Linked DNA regions of Homo sapiens: all the other regions are linked to region 2. Evidence: promoter capture Hi-C in 16 types of primary human blood cells and fetal thymus (Javierre and others, 2016). All regions are on one chromosome and are shown on one strand. Each heading gives the region's core, a stretch centred on a gene start or on the middle of the fragment in contact. The rest is flanking DNA. Distances are from core to core; before and after follow the strand shown. Region 1 has its middle 29 kb from the start of MRPL15. Region 2 holds the start of ATP6V1H (ATPase H+ transporting V1 subunit H). Region 3 holds the start of LYPLA1-TCEA1 (LYPLA1-TCEA1 readthrough).

Evidence for each region. The method cuts DNA at HindIII sites, captures the fragments that hold promoters and counts their contacts. A CHiCAGO score of 5 or more calls a contact.
Region 1: a fragment that was not itself captured here is called in contact with the fragment with the promoter of ATP6V1H in region 2 in 14 of 17 cell types (M2 macrophages, M0 macrophages, M1 macrophages and 11 more); the score reaches 14.7 in M2 macrophages.
Region 3: a fragment that was not itself captured here is called in contact with the fragment with the promoter of ATP6V1H in region 2 in 1 of 17 cell types (neutrophils); the score reaches 7.2 in neutrophils.

Annotation. Positions count from the first base shown.
Region 1 is chr8:54,162,451-54,166,282 of GRCh38, reverse strand. No RefSeq gene overlaps it. Among named protein-coding and RNA genes, the nearest start is that of MRPL15, 29 kb to the right of the region's middle. RefSeq lists an enhancer at 567-616. The HindIII fragment of the contact is 2,721 bases long and covers 318-3,038 here.
Region 2 is chr8:53,840,986-53,845,204 of GRCh38, reverse strand. It overlaps ATP6V1H (ATPase H+ transporting V1 subunit H), which reads left to right and starts at 1,960. Exons shown (of 14, transcript NM_015941.4): 1 at 1,960-2,171; 2 at 3,480-3,627. The coding sequence starts at 3,515. RefSeq lists enhancers at 525-574, 1,872-2,011 and a silencer at 1,652-1,801. The HindIII fragment of the contact is 7,596 bases long and covers 1-4,219 here.
Region 3 is chr8:54,101,593-54,105,505 of GRCh38, reverse strand. It overlaps LYPLA1-TCEA1 (LYPLA1-TCEA1 readthrough), which reads left to right and starts at 3,559. Exons shown (of 21, transcript NM_001425842.1): 1 at 3,559-3,751. It overlaps LYPLA1 (lysophospholipase 1), which reads left to right and starts at 3,559. Exons shown (of 9, transcript NM_006330.4): 1 at 3,559-3,751. The coding sequence starts at 3,683. RefSeq lists a silencer at 3,436-3,913. The HindIII fragment of the contact is 2,057 bases long and covers 244-2,300 here.

The DNA of each region.
Region 1 (3,832 bases), core at 429-2,928, 320 kb before region 2:
AAAGGAGGATGATTTGGAGCGCTCCAGAGCTGGAAGGCTTCTCAGGGGTCATTGCTCATGACTTCCGTGGGTCCCTTACTCTAGTCTGTCAAAGCAGAAGTCAGCATTTCACTCTCGATAACTACTGCATACAAGTAACCAAGAGACTACTGGCTCAATGAGGAAAAAGGCGTGGACACCCCTTCAACTCAGCATTTGAGAAAAGTGAGACAAGTGCCTGCTCAAAGGCGCTTGGTGTGCAATAGTGTGTCCCAGGCTATCAGCATGCAGGCAGTGATGGCAGATACACGCCCTGAGAGTGAAGCCACAGCGAAGCTTCGACAGCAGGGGCCAGCGGCGAGTCATGAGGGGAATATAATGGCAGCTTCTCTAACTCCGGACAATATCCAGCAGCAGCTAACACTTTCTCATTCTCCAGTTAATGCAATAAAATTGCAGAGATGCTACATACGGTATTAATAGGAAGCAATAAGTATGCATTAGAATAACTCCTTTCCCAGTGTCAGGTTATTCTGACCAATGTGACTCCAGAGAGGAACTAGGCTCGCTATCAGCAACACTGAGCTACAGCTGGCTGGACTGGGCTATGGCCTAAAATTCTCTGTCACATCTCCCTGTGCAAGACAGCAAATTTCTACCTCTGCCTCCAGCAACTTTTGTACACAGAACAATGACCCAATCCCTCCTGAGAACTGTCCCACCTACATACGGGAGAAGCAATAAAAAGAGACCCAGCCTCCCCAGGAATTTCTCTGGGCCAGAGTCACTCCTTATATTTAAGACAGTCAGCAGTTTATAACACCTGCTGCATTATAAATCTTAGTCCTCCAAACCAGTGGTCTTTCATCTTAAAATCAGTTGAGTGATGATTTGATGTCAATGTAATATTGAAGTCAGGGAAGAGAAATAACCACAAACCTCTGCTTGATATGAGAAGGCACTGTGAAGGAAAATGTTTAGGACTTACAGAAAGTACACAAGAAAAATGTATAGAATCCTTATGTTGGCAGACTGGATGTCAATTTATGGCATTTGCACATAGTATGTCTACTATTCTAGTTTTATTTTAAATGTAAGTTTCTTTACATTAAAAAAAATGTTTTGGGGAGGGCACGGTGACTCATGCCTATAATTCAAGCACTTTGGAAGGCCGAGGCAGGTGGATTGCTTGAGGCCAGGAGTTCAAGACCAGCCTGGCCAACATGGAGAAACCCCATCTCTACTAAAAATACAAAAGTTAGCCAGGGGTGGTGGCATGTGCCTGCAATCCCAGCTACTCGAGAGGCTAAGGTGGGAGAATTGCTTGAACCCAGGAGGCAGAGGTTGCAGTAAGCCAAGATCACACCACTGCACTCCAGCTTGGACGACAGAGCGAGACTCTGTCTCAAATTTTAAAAAATTGAAATATTTTAAAGTTTTGGTTTATAAATATTCTTATGGTAATATAAAAGGTATCTTTTACCACGTGCAGAGCAAATGACTAAATCAGAAATGAATAAGACAACAGTCCCAACCCAAAATAAAAAAGGCTTATAACAGGCCTGGCATGGTGGCTTACACCTGTAATCCCAGCACCATGAGAGGCCGAGGCTGGTGGATTGCTTGAGTCCAGGAGTTTGAGACCAGCCTGGGACACATTGTGAAACCTCACCTCTATTAAAAATACAAAAAATTAGCAAGTCATGGTGATGCTTGCCCATAGTCCCAGCTACTCGAGAAGCTGAGGTGGGAGGATCACCTGAGCCCAGGAGGTTTAGGCTGCAGTGAGCTGAGATGGCACCACTGCACTCCAGCCTGGACAACCAGAGTGAGATCCTGTCTCAAGAAATATAAAAAATAAATAAAAGAATTATAAGAGAACACTGTGACCAGCCTAACCAACATGGTGAAACTCCATCTCTACTAAAAATACAAAAATTAGCTGGGCATGGTGGTGCATGCATGCAGTCCCAGCTACTCGGGAGGCTGAGGCAGAAGGATGGCTGGAACCCGGGAGGCAGAGGTTGCAGTGATCCCAGATCATGCCACTTGCACTCCAGCCTGGGTGACAGAGCACATTTCTGTCTCAAAAATAAAATAAAATAATAAAAATAAAGAGAACACTGTGAAAAATTGTGTGCCAACCAATTAGATAACCTAGTTGAAATGGATAAATTACTTGACAGACACAAACTACAAAAACAGACTCAAGAAGAGTAGAAAATCACAGAAAAAAAGAGAAATAAAAAAGAATAGAAAATCTGAAAAGATGTATAACAAGAGAATTATTAATCAAAAACTTCCCACAAAGAATAGCCCAGGGTCAGATGACTTCACTGGTGAATTCTACCAAATATTTAAAGAATTAATGCCAATTCTTCAAAAATTCTTCAAAAAAAAAAAGAGGAGGAAACACTTCGAAATCATTCTATTTGCCTAGTATAACACTGATACCAAAGACATCACAAAAAACTACAAATATATTTTAAATGATACATGCAAAACTCAACAAAATACAAGCAATCCAAATTCAGCAACATATAAAAGAGGATTATATACTATGACCAAGTGGAATTTATCCCAGGTATACAAGGTTGGTTTAATATCTGAAAATCTATCAATGTAATACACCAAATTAATAGAATAAAAGACAAAAACACATACTGATAAGAGATAGCCCATGTTCATGGATTAGACGACTTTTTTTTTTGAGACATGGTCTCACTTTGTCACTCAAGGTGGAGTACAGTGGCACAATCATGGCTCACTGCAGCCTCAACCTCCAGGGCTCAAGGGATTCACCTTAGCCTCTGCCTGTCCCTCAGGTACCTGAGACTATAGGCATGTTCCACCAGCTAATTTTTTATTTTTTACTTTTTTGTAAAGATGGAGTTTCACTATGTTGCCTAGGCTGGTCCCAAACCCCTGGGCTTAAGTGATCCTCCCACTTTGGTCTCCCAAAGTGCTGGAATTACAGAAGTGAGCCACCATGTCTGGCTAGAAGACTTAGTATTGTTAAAATAGCCATATTCTCTGAATTGATCTACAAATTTAAAGCTTGCATTTATCAAAATGCAAGCTGCCATTTTTGCAGAAATTGGCAAGGTGATTCTCAAATTTGTATGGAAATTCAAGGGGCCCAGAGGAGTCAAAACCATCTTGAAAAAGAAGAATAAGGCTAGGATTTCTTATTTTCAAAACTTACTACAAAACTACAGTAATCAAGACTGTATAAGACTTTATGTATCAAGTGTATAAAGTTAGACATATATAGCTCAATGGCACTTATGGCCAACTGATTTTCTACAAAGATACAAGACAATTCAATGGGAACAGAATATTTCTTTTCAGTAAATGTTGCTGGGACAACTTGATACCACATGCAAAAGAATAAAGTTGGACTCTTGCCTCACATCACATACAAACATTAACTCAAAAGTATTAAATGCTCAAATGAAAAGCTAAAGCTAGAAAACAGAGAATTTTAAGACCTAGGAGTAAATCTGCATGACTTAGCATTAGGTAATCATAACTTAGATGTGACAACAAAACCACAGGCAAAAAAAAAAAAGAAAAAATAGATAATTTAGACTTCATTGAAATTAAAAACTTTTGTTTATTAAAAGACACTGTCAAGAAAGTGAAAAGACAATACACAGAATGAGAGAAAATATTTGCAAATAATATATATAATAAGGATCTAGTATCCAGAATACATAAATATTATTATAATTCAATAAAAAGACAAATGGTACCATTTTAAAATAGGCAAAGGACCGGAAAAGACATTTATCCAAAGAAAACATACAAGTGGCAAATAAGTTCATGAAAGTGATTATCAATACCGTTAATT
Region 2 (4,219 bases), core at 711-3,210:
TATGGTCTGTGTCTCCCCAAAATTCCTGTGTTGAAATCCTAACTCCCAAGGTGATGATATTAGGAGGTGGGACCTTTGGGAAATGATCAGGTCATGAGGGTGGAGCTCTCATGAATGAAATTAATGTCCTTATGAAAGAGACCCCAGAGAGCTCTCTCACCTCTCCACCATGTGAAGCTACAATGAGAAGACAGCAGTTTGCAACCTGGGACAATCCTTCCCAGAACCTCACCATGATAGCACCCCAATTCTGAACTTTCAACCTCCAGAACTGTGAGAAAATGACTTTCTGTTGTTTATAAGCCACCCAGTCTACAGCACTGTTACAGGAGCCTGAATGGACCAAGAAAAATCTCCGATAGAAGTGTTACAGAAATAATGTTAAGAGAGATAATGCCGGGAGTACCTGCCTCTTCTCTTCTCCCTACTCCAGGCAAATTGTCTGGTAATGTTGTGATGCTCGGAGAACGCCAGCCCAGGTGCCTGTGAAGCAGTCCCCTCTGCTCACTGCACTGTTCCTGATTTTGTTCCATAACTTTGTGCCTCTAGGAAAAGAGGAGAGCCTCCCGAAATCTGATGAGACTCGCTGTATCACGCCAGTCTGTGGCTTAGGTGATACAGAAAGGAAATGCGAAGATCAGGCCTCACTGCCAGCTTTGCTCAGTTACACAGAAAACATGCTGTTTCAGCTTTTGGGAGTTTCTTAGTACACGATCGGTTTCTTTTTCTCTTTTATGAAAGTTTTTCCCCTTAGATTTGCTTTCAAAACAACAGACTTTCACTTCTGGCTAAGACAGAATGAGTGACCTAGTACAATCTTTGACACTGTTATTATATATCTTTATTCATAATCAATGCATGATTTTGATTATTCTGACTTTAATTTTACGAGTAAAAATGGGTTGGTTATAAATCCCTTTCAAAGAATTTTTTTTTTTTCTTTTTGAGACGGAGTTTTGCTTTTTCTGCCCAGGCTGGAGTACAATGGTGCGGTCTTGGCTCACTGCAACCTCTGCCTCCTGGGTTCAAGTGATTTTCCTACCTCAGCCTCCCAAGCAGCTGGGATTACAGGCATGCGCCACCACACCCAGCTAATTTTTTGTATTTTTAGTAGAGATGGGGTTTCACCATGTTGGTCAGCTGGTCTCGAACTCCAGACCTCAGGTGATCCACTGGCCTCGGCCTCCCAAAGTGCTGGGATTACAGGAGTGAGCCACCGCGCCCGGCCCCTTTCATTGCTTTTTAAGGAAAACATGCTATCATATATACTTCACCTCCAGGGCAGTACATTCTTACTTTAAGGCAAAGACAGTTGCTGAGGCCTGGACTAGGGGAAAATTTGGGCTCCAGATGGGACTGTTGGATAAAATACCAGACGTCCTGTAAATGTGAATTTTAGATAAACAACGAATAACTTTTTAGTATAAAAGTAAATACTGCAATGGAATTTATTATTTGCTAAATGTGCAACCCTAGGTTAAGAGAGCTTTTCAGACCCACTTCTCAGCCCGAGTTTTCTATTTAAAATCAGAATAAGAACGCCTGCTTCATGGAGCTGTTAAATCCAAATGGAAATTAATTTGAAAGCGCGAAATCAAACTTTTCAAAAGAATGACGGTTACAATAAGAGCGTTTTGGCCTCTGCTAGCTGCTTCCGGGCGGAGGTCCTCGGCCTCCCCTAGGCGAGGCACTAGGTCTGGGGGCGGCGGGTCTTAGCGTGCCCGCCACGCTCGCCGCCTCCCACCTGCCCTGGCTGGCTGGGGCCCGACCCTTGCGTCGCTCCGGGGCCCAAGTTACGGACTCGGGAATCCAGTTGTCCGCACCGAACAAGCCCCGCCGCAGCGCCCGCCCCTCCTCTTGCTGCTTTGGAGTCTCCCGGCTTCCGCCTTCCGCAGCAGTCACGTGCCTCCGATCACGTGACCGGCGCCTCTGTCATTCTACTGCGGCCGCCCTGGCTTCCTTCTACCTGTGCGGCCCTCAACGTCTCCTTGGTGCGGGACCCGCTTCACTTTCGGCTCCCGGAGTCTCCCTCCACTGCTCAGACCTCTGGACCTGACAGGAGACGCCTACTTGGCTCTGACGCGGCGCCCCAGCCCGGCTGTGTCCCCGGCGCCCCGGACCACCCTCCCTGCCGGCTTTGGGTGCGTTGTGGGGTCCCGAGGATTCGCGAGGTAAGGCCGCCCTCGCGTTGTTTGGTCTCAGGCTGCAGACCAGGTCAGGCGACTCTTGCAGTTTCTCCAGCTTGCCTGGTGCGTGCTGGTGTCTCGCCGCTTGGTCCTCTCCTGTTCTTCGGCCCCCGGTTGCCAGATTGCTTTTCTTCCAGGCCTCAACCAGGTTTATTAAGCGAAATTCTGGAGCCTTTCTCGCAGGGGGAAGAAACGTCAGGGGCGGGCAGGAGAGTGGAGGGGGAGGGGTAAAAAGTATACCTTCTCCAGGACTGGGCCACGGCCCTGGATCGCTGGGGGTGCGAGTAGTTCAGGGACTTAGGTAATTGTCTAGAGACACCTTGAGCTACGCCAGGACGGGCCGCTGAGGCTGAGCCTCCTTGGCTGCAGAGTTCCAGCCTGGCCCAGTTGAAGCCTGTTTTTTCCTGGGCCCTGTCGTTCGCGCTGCCCAGGGTTGTTTATACAGCAAATCTTCAGATACAGAGATTAAGTTCCAAATTGATTAAGATCGTTGGAAACCCGGAATATAATTTTGGGTAGGATTTTAACTTCTTTGTGGCCATGGCCGTGAATTTATGTTTTGCAAGTGGCAACCTGTATTTTGCTTTGTGTTAAAATCAGTCGTTTGTATCTGGAAGTTTAGGAGTGAGAATTACATAGAATTTCATTATTGTAGGTTCTTGTCGTCCAGCCAGACCGCCATTGTTGGCTTACCTAAATTGTAATATGTATTTGTTCTAAAACTTTCTCTCCGAATTTTGATTTTGCAAATACTATGAATTTTGTTTGAAAAGGAAAGCACTGTCTTCTAAGAAATTATGTTCCCACTTTGTGTATTTTAATTTGAGTAATTTTCGAAAGGACTTAGAATTTTTAATGTGCCACTTCAAAATGATGCTTAGTAAATGTTTATAAAACTAGCCTTATCCGTACTATTCATATTCTTATTGTTTCTCTATGAGAAAAGTTAACCACAATTGTATAAATTTACAATTTTTCCCATATTTATACCTATTCTATTTAATCATGATTTCTGATTTCAGTATATTAGGTGATTGCTTTAAAAATCTTACTGCAGTGTTAGTGCCAATAATGAAAAAAATTTTTCTAGAAAAGCAAAAGCCTAAAGAACTCTTTTATGGAGCAGTGGACAATATTTGAAATATAATGATACTTTCAGACTTAGGACATTTAATATTTGAGTTGAATGCCTGGGGAGATTAAAGTGATCACGATATTCATAATCATAATATTAATAGTTGTAAAAAAAAGAAACACCTCGTATTCTGTTTTTACCTTGCATCAAAATTGAAGATTTGTTGAAAGACATTCAAGATTACGAAGTTTAGATGACCAAAATGGATATCCGAGGTGCTGTGGATGCTGCTGTCCCCACCAATATTATTGCTGCCAAGGCTGCAGAAGTTCGTGCAAACAAAGTCAACTGGCAATCCTATCTTCAGTAAGTACCAATTTGCTGTGAATCATGGACAGTCATATGCTTTTGCATCAGACTTTTTCATGGTCATGCTTCTATGAGAGAAATACAGGGAAAATACTGAAAAATGTGGAAGAAACACTTCCTCTTCAGAATAATTAGCTGTCTTAGGGAGTTAAGTGTAGTGGGGTGGAAACAGCTTGGCGCCCTAGTGGGGAAGCAGAGCGGCTTATGGTGCTTTTGACCTTCTCTGGCTGCCTGGGGAAGTACTTTTGGAATAAGTGGGAAACATAGGAGGAATGTCCTTGGGCTAACGGAGGGAGGAAGGGGATGAGGGGCAAAACCTGCTAGACTGGTCTGATATGCCCTGGCAATCAGCATGGGGGCAGGTGGCCTTTTTAGAGTGGTGCATACAACTAATAAGAAGCACAGATATTTGAGTTGAGAGACTTGGATTTGAGTTTTGGTTCTTGCTATTAGTTTGGTGATCTTAAGCAAATCACTTAACTTCTCTGAGGCTCAATAAAGTAAAATGTGAAATGGGGAGACATACCCCACAGGCTTGTTGCTGAAATAATGTATTTATTAGCACAGTAGAATACAAGCATTAGTATGT
Region 3 (3,913 bases), core at 23-2,522, 260 kb before region 2:
CAGCATTGGTGGGTTCTTGGTCTCACCGACTTCAAGAATGAAGCTGCGGACCCTCGCGGTGAGTGTTACAGTTCTTAAAGATGGTATGTCTGGAGTTTATTCTTTCTGGTGGGTTCCTGGTCTCACTGGCTTCAGGAGTGAAGCTGCAGACCTTCGCAGTGAGTGTTATAGCTCTTAAAGGCACTGCGGACCCAAAGAGTGAGCAGCAGCAAGATTTATTGCAAAGAGCAAAAGAACAAAGCTTCCACAGTGTGTAACGGGACCCGAGTGGGTTGCCACTGCTGGCTCAGGCAGCCTGCTTTTATTCCCTTATCTGGCCCCATCCACATCCTGCTGATTGGTCCATTTTACAGAGAGCTGACTGGTCCATTTTGACAGGGTGCTGACTGGTGCATTTACAATCCCTGAGCTAGACACAAAAGTTCTCCAAGTCCCCACTAGATTAGCTAGACACAGAGCGCTGATTGGTGCATTTACAAACCTTGAGCTAGACACAGGGTGCTGATTGGTGTGTTTAACAAACCTTGAGCTAGACACAGAGTGCTGATTGGTGTTATTTACAATCCCTTAGCTAGACATAAATATTCTCCACGTCCCCACCAGATTAGCTAGATACAGAGTGCTGATTGGTGCATTTACAAACCTTGAGCTAGACACAGAGTGCTGATTGGTGTATTTACAATCCTTTAGCTAGACATAAAGGTTCTTCAAGTCCCCACCAGATTAGCTAGATACAGAGCGCTGATTGGTGCATTTACAAACCTTGAGCTAGACACAGGGTGCTGATTGGTGTGTGTACAATCCTCTAGCTAGACATAAAAGTTCTTCAAGTCCCCACTAGACTCAGGAGCCCAGCTGGCTTCACCTAGTGGATCCTGCACTGGGGCCGCAGGCAGAGCTACTTGCCAGTCCCACGCCGTGGGCCTGCACTCCTCAGCCCTTGGGCGGTCGATGGGACCAGGTGCCGCGGAGCAAAGGGAGGTGCTGGTCAGGGAGGCTTGGGCCACGCAGGAGCCCACGGCGGGGGCGGGGGAGGCTCAGGTATGGCGGGCTGCAGGTCCTGAGCCCTGCCCCGCGGGGAGGCGGCTGAGGCCCGGGGAGAATTCCAGCGCAGTGAGGGCGGGCCCACAGTGCCGGGGGACCTGGTGCCCCCTCCGCAGCTGCTGGCCCAGGTGCTAAGCCCGCCGAGCCCACGCCCACCCGGAACTTGCTCTGGCCCCGGTTCCCACGGACACCTCTCCCTCCACACCTTTCTGCAAGCAGAGGGAGCTGGCTCTGGCCTGCGCCAGCACAGAGTGGCTCCCACAGTGCAGCGGCGGGCCGAAGGGCTCCTCAAGTGTGGCCAGAGCAGACACCGAGGCCGAGGAGGTGCTGAGAATGAGCGAGGACTGCTAGCGCGTTGTTATCTCTCAATGAGAGTGCAGTAGTGAGGATGACCAGAGTTCACTCTCATTGCCATCTTAGTTTTGGTGGGTTTTGGCCGGCTTCTTTACTGCATCCTGTTTTATCAGCAAGATCTTTATAAGCTATATTTTGCGCTGACGTTCTATCTCATCCTGTGACTTAGAATGCCTTAACCGTCTGGGAATGCAGCCCAATAGGTTTCAGCCTTACTTTACTCAGCCCCTATTTAAGATGGAGTTGCTCTGGTTCACACGCCTCTGACACTGGTTACCGTGTGAAAGAAATGGAGTGTTGTTTTTTTTACAGCTTTCTTCCGAACCTTACTCTCTAAGGATGGTATCCAGTATGTCCTTTTTTTTTTCAGATGGAGTCCTGCTCTGTTGCCCAGGCTGGAGTGCAGTGGTACTATCTTGGCTCACTGCAAGCTCCGCCTCCTGGGTTCATGCCATTCTCCTGCCTTAGCCTCCCGAGTAGCTGGGACTACAGGCAACCACCACCACACCCAGCTAATTTTTTTTTTTTTTTGTATTGTTAGTAGAGACGGGTTTTCACCGTGTGAGCCAGGATGGTCTCAATCTCCTGACCTCGTGATCCGCCCACCTCGGCCTCCCAAAGTGCTGGGATTACAGGTTTGAGCCACTGCGCCCGGCCTCCAGTATGTCCTTCACTGAATTGTAAACTTCTGAAGGTCAGGGCATTTTGGCTTTAAGTGTTTCTATCTTGTGCTCTCTTCCAGATCTTACCATGTAGTTGATATGCAACACATTTGTTGAGTAACTACATTTTAGGCCATAAAGGCACCTGTGCAGAAAAGGGCAGTCTAGTCTCATGCTTATGTGTCCAGAGTTGGTTCCTTCCGGTGGGTTCATGGTCTCGCTGACTTCAAGAATAAAGCTTGTCACCTTCGTGGTGAGTGTTACAGTTTTTTTTTTTTTTTTTTTTTTTTTTTGAGACAAGGTCTCTCTCTGTCTCCCAGGCTGGAGTGCAGTGACGCGATCTCAGGTCACTACAAGCTCTGCCTCTCAGGTTCACGCCATTCCCCTGCCTCAGCCTCCCAAGTAGCTTGGACTACACGACCGGCCAATTTTTTTTTTTTGTATTTTTAGTAGAGACGAGGTCTCACCGTGTTAAGGCAGGATGGTCTCGATCACCTGACCTCCTGATCCACCCGCCTCGGCCTCCCAAAGTGCTGGGAGTGTTACAGCTCTTAAAGGTCCCACAGACCCAAAGAGTGAGCAGCAGCAGCAAGATTTATTGTGAAGAGTGAAAGAACAAACTTTCCACAGTGTGGAAGGGGACCCAGGGCTGCCACTGCCAGCTAGGGGATGGGGGGCGTGGCCAGCTTTTATTTCCTTATTTGTCCCGGCCCAAGTCCTGCGGATTGGTCCACTTTACAGAACACTGATTAGCCCGTTTTACAGGGTACTGATTGGTGCATTTTACAAACCTCTAGCTAGCCACAAAGTGCTGATTGGTGCATTTTACAATCCTAGCTACAGAGTGCTGTTGGTACATTTTACAATCCTCTTGTAAGACAGAAAAGTTCTCCAAGTCCCCAACCGACCCAGAAGACCAGCTGGCTTTACCTCTCACTTAAACCTGTACTGTGTCAATATCCGTACATCAGTAAGTGTTGTCGATCAAGTTAGGGAAGTAGTGGATTTCTGGTGACAAATGTTACCCTTTCCAACTAAAGTTTAAAGAAGGTAAGTTGAACCCAAATCTACATACTGCTGTAGCCCCAAACGGAAATACTGCAAAAGCTCCATCAACGTCTCCCAGTCCATCCAGACTTTTACAAATGGATAGACCCCGGCCGCAGGAAACCAAGGAGCACCTGGGGTTGGGTTGGGTGAATTGGCTCTGGGGCTCATTCTTTTCACTACAGCGCCAGAAAAGCAAAAACCTAAACCAAGACCCAAGAGACCAGCCCTCAGCCTGCACCTGAGAGCACATTTTCCCTAGCCAGCACTGAGCATGCGCAGGCTGCGTGGTGTGGCGAAAGCGCAGCCAGGTCCGCGCTGCCGCCGCAGCCAATCGGAGGGAGGGAGCCGCCCGGACATTGTGAGGTGCCGAGGGAGGGGCGGCGGGCGAGGGGCAGGGCAGGGCGGACCCTGGACGCGCGGGCGCGCGCGGAAGGTAGCGCGGGGCCGCGTTGGCGCGCACGCGCCTGAGCGTGCGCCCGGTGGGGCCGGCCGGGACTCGCCGCTCGCACGCCCTTGGGCCGCGGCCGGGCGCCCGCTCTTCCTTCCGCTTGCGCTGTGAGCTGAGGCGGTGTATGTGCGGCAATAACATGTCAACCCCGCTGCCCGCCATCGTGCCCGCCGCCCGGAAGGCCACCGCTGCGGTGAGTGGCGTAGGCGTGGGCTCGGAGGGGTCCACTGGGCCGGCCACCGGTGGTTGCCCCTCGCGCGGGGTGGGCGTTGCGGGCGCGTGGCGGCCTGCGGACGAGGACGCTCCTCCCGGCCCGGGTGGGGTGCGAATGGTCCGCGCGGCCGGGTCCGCGGGG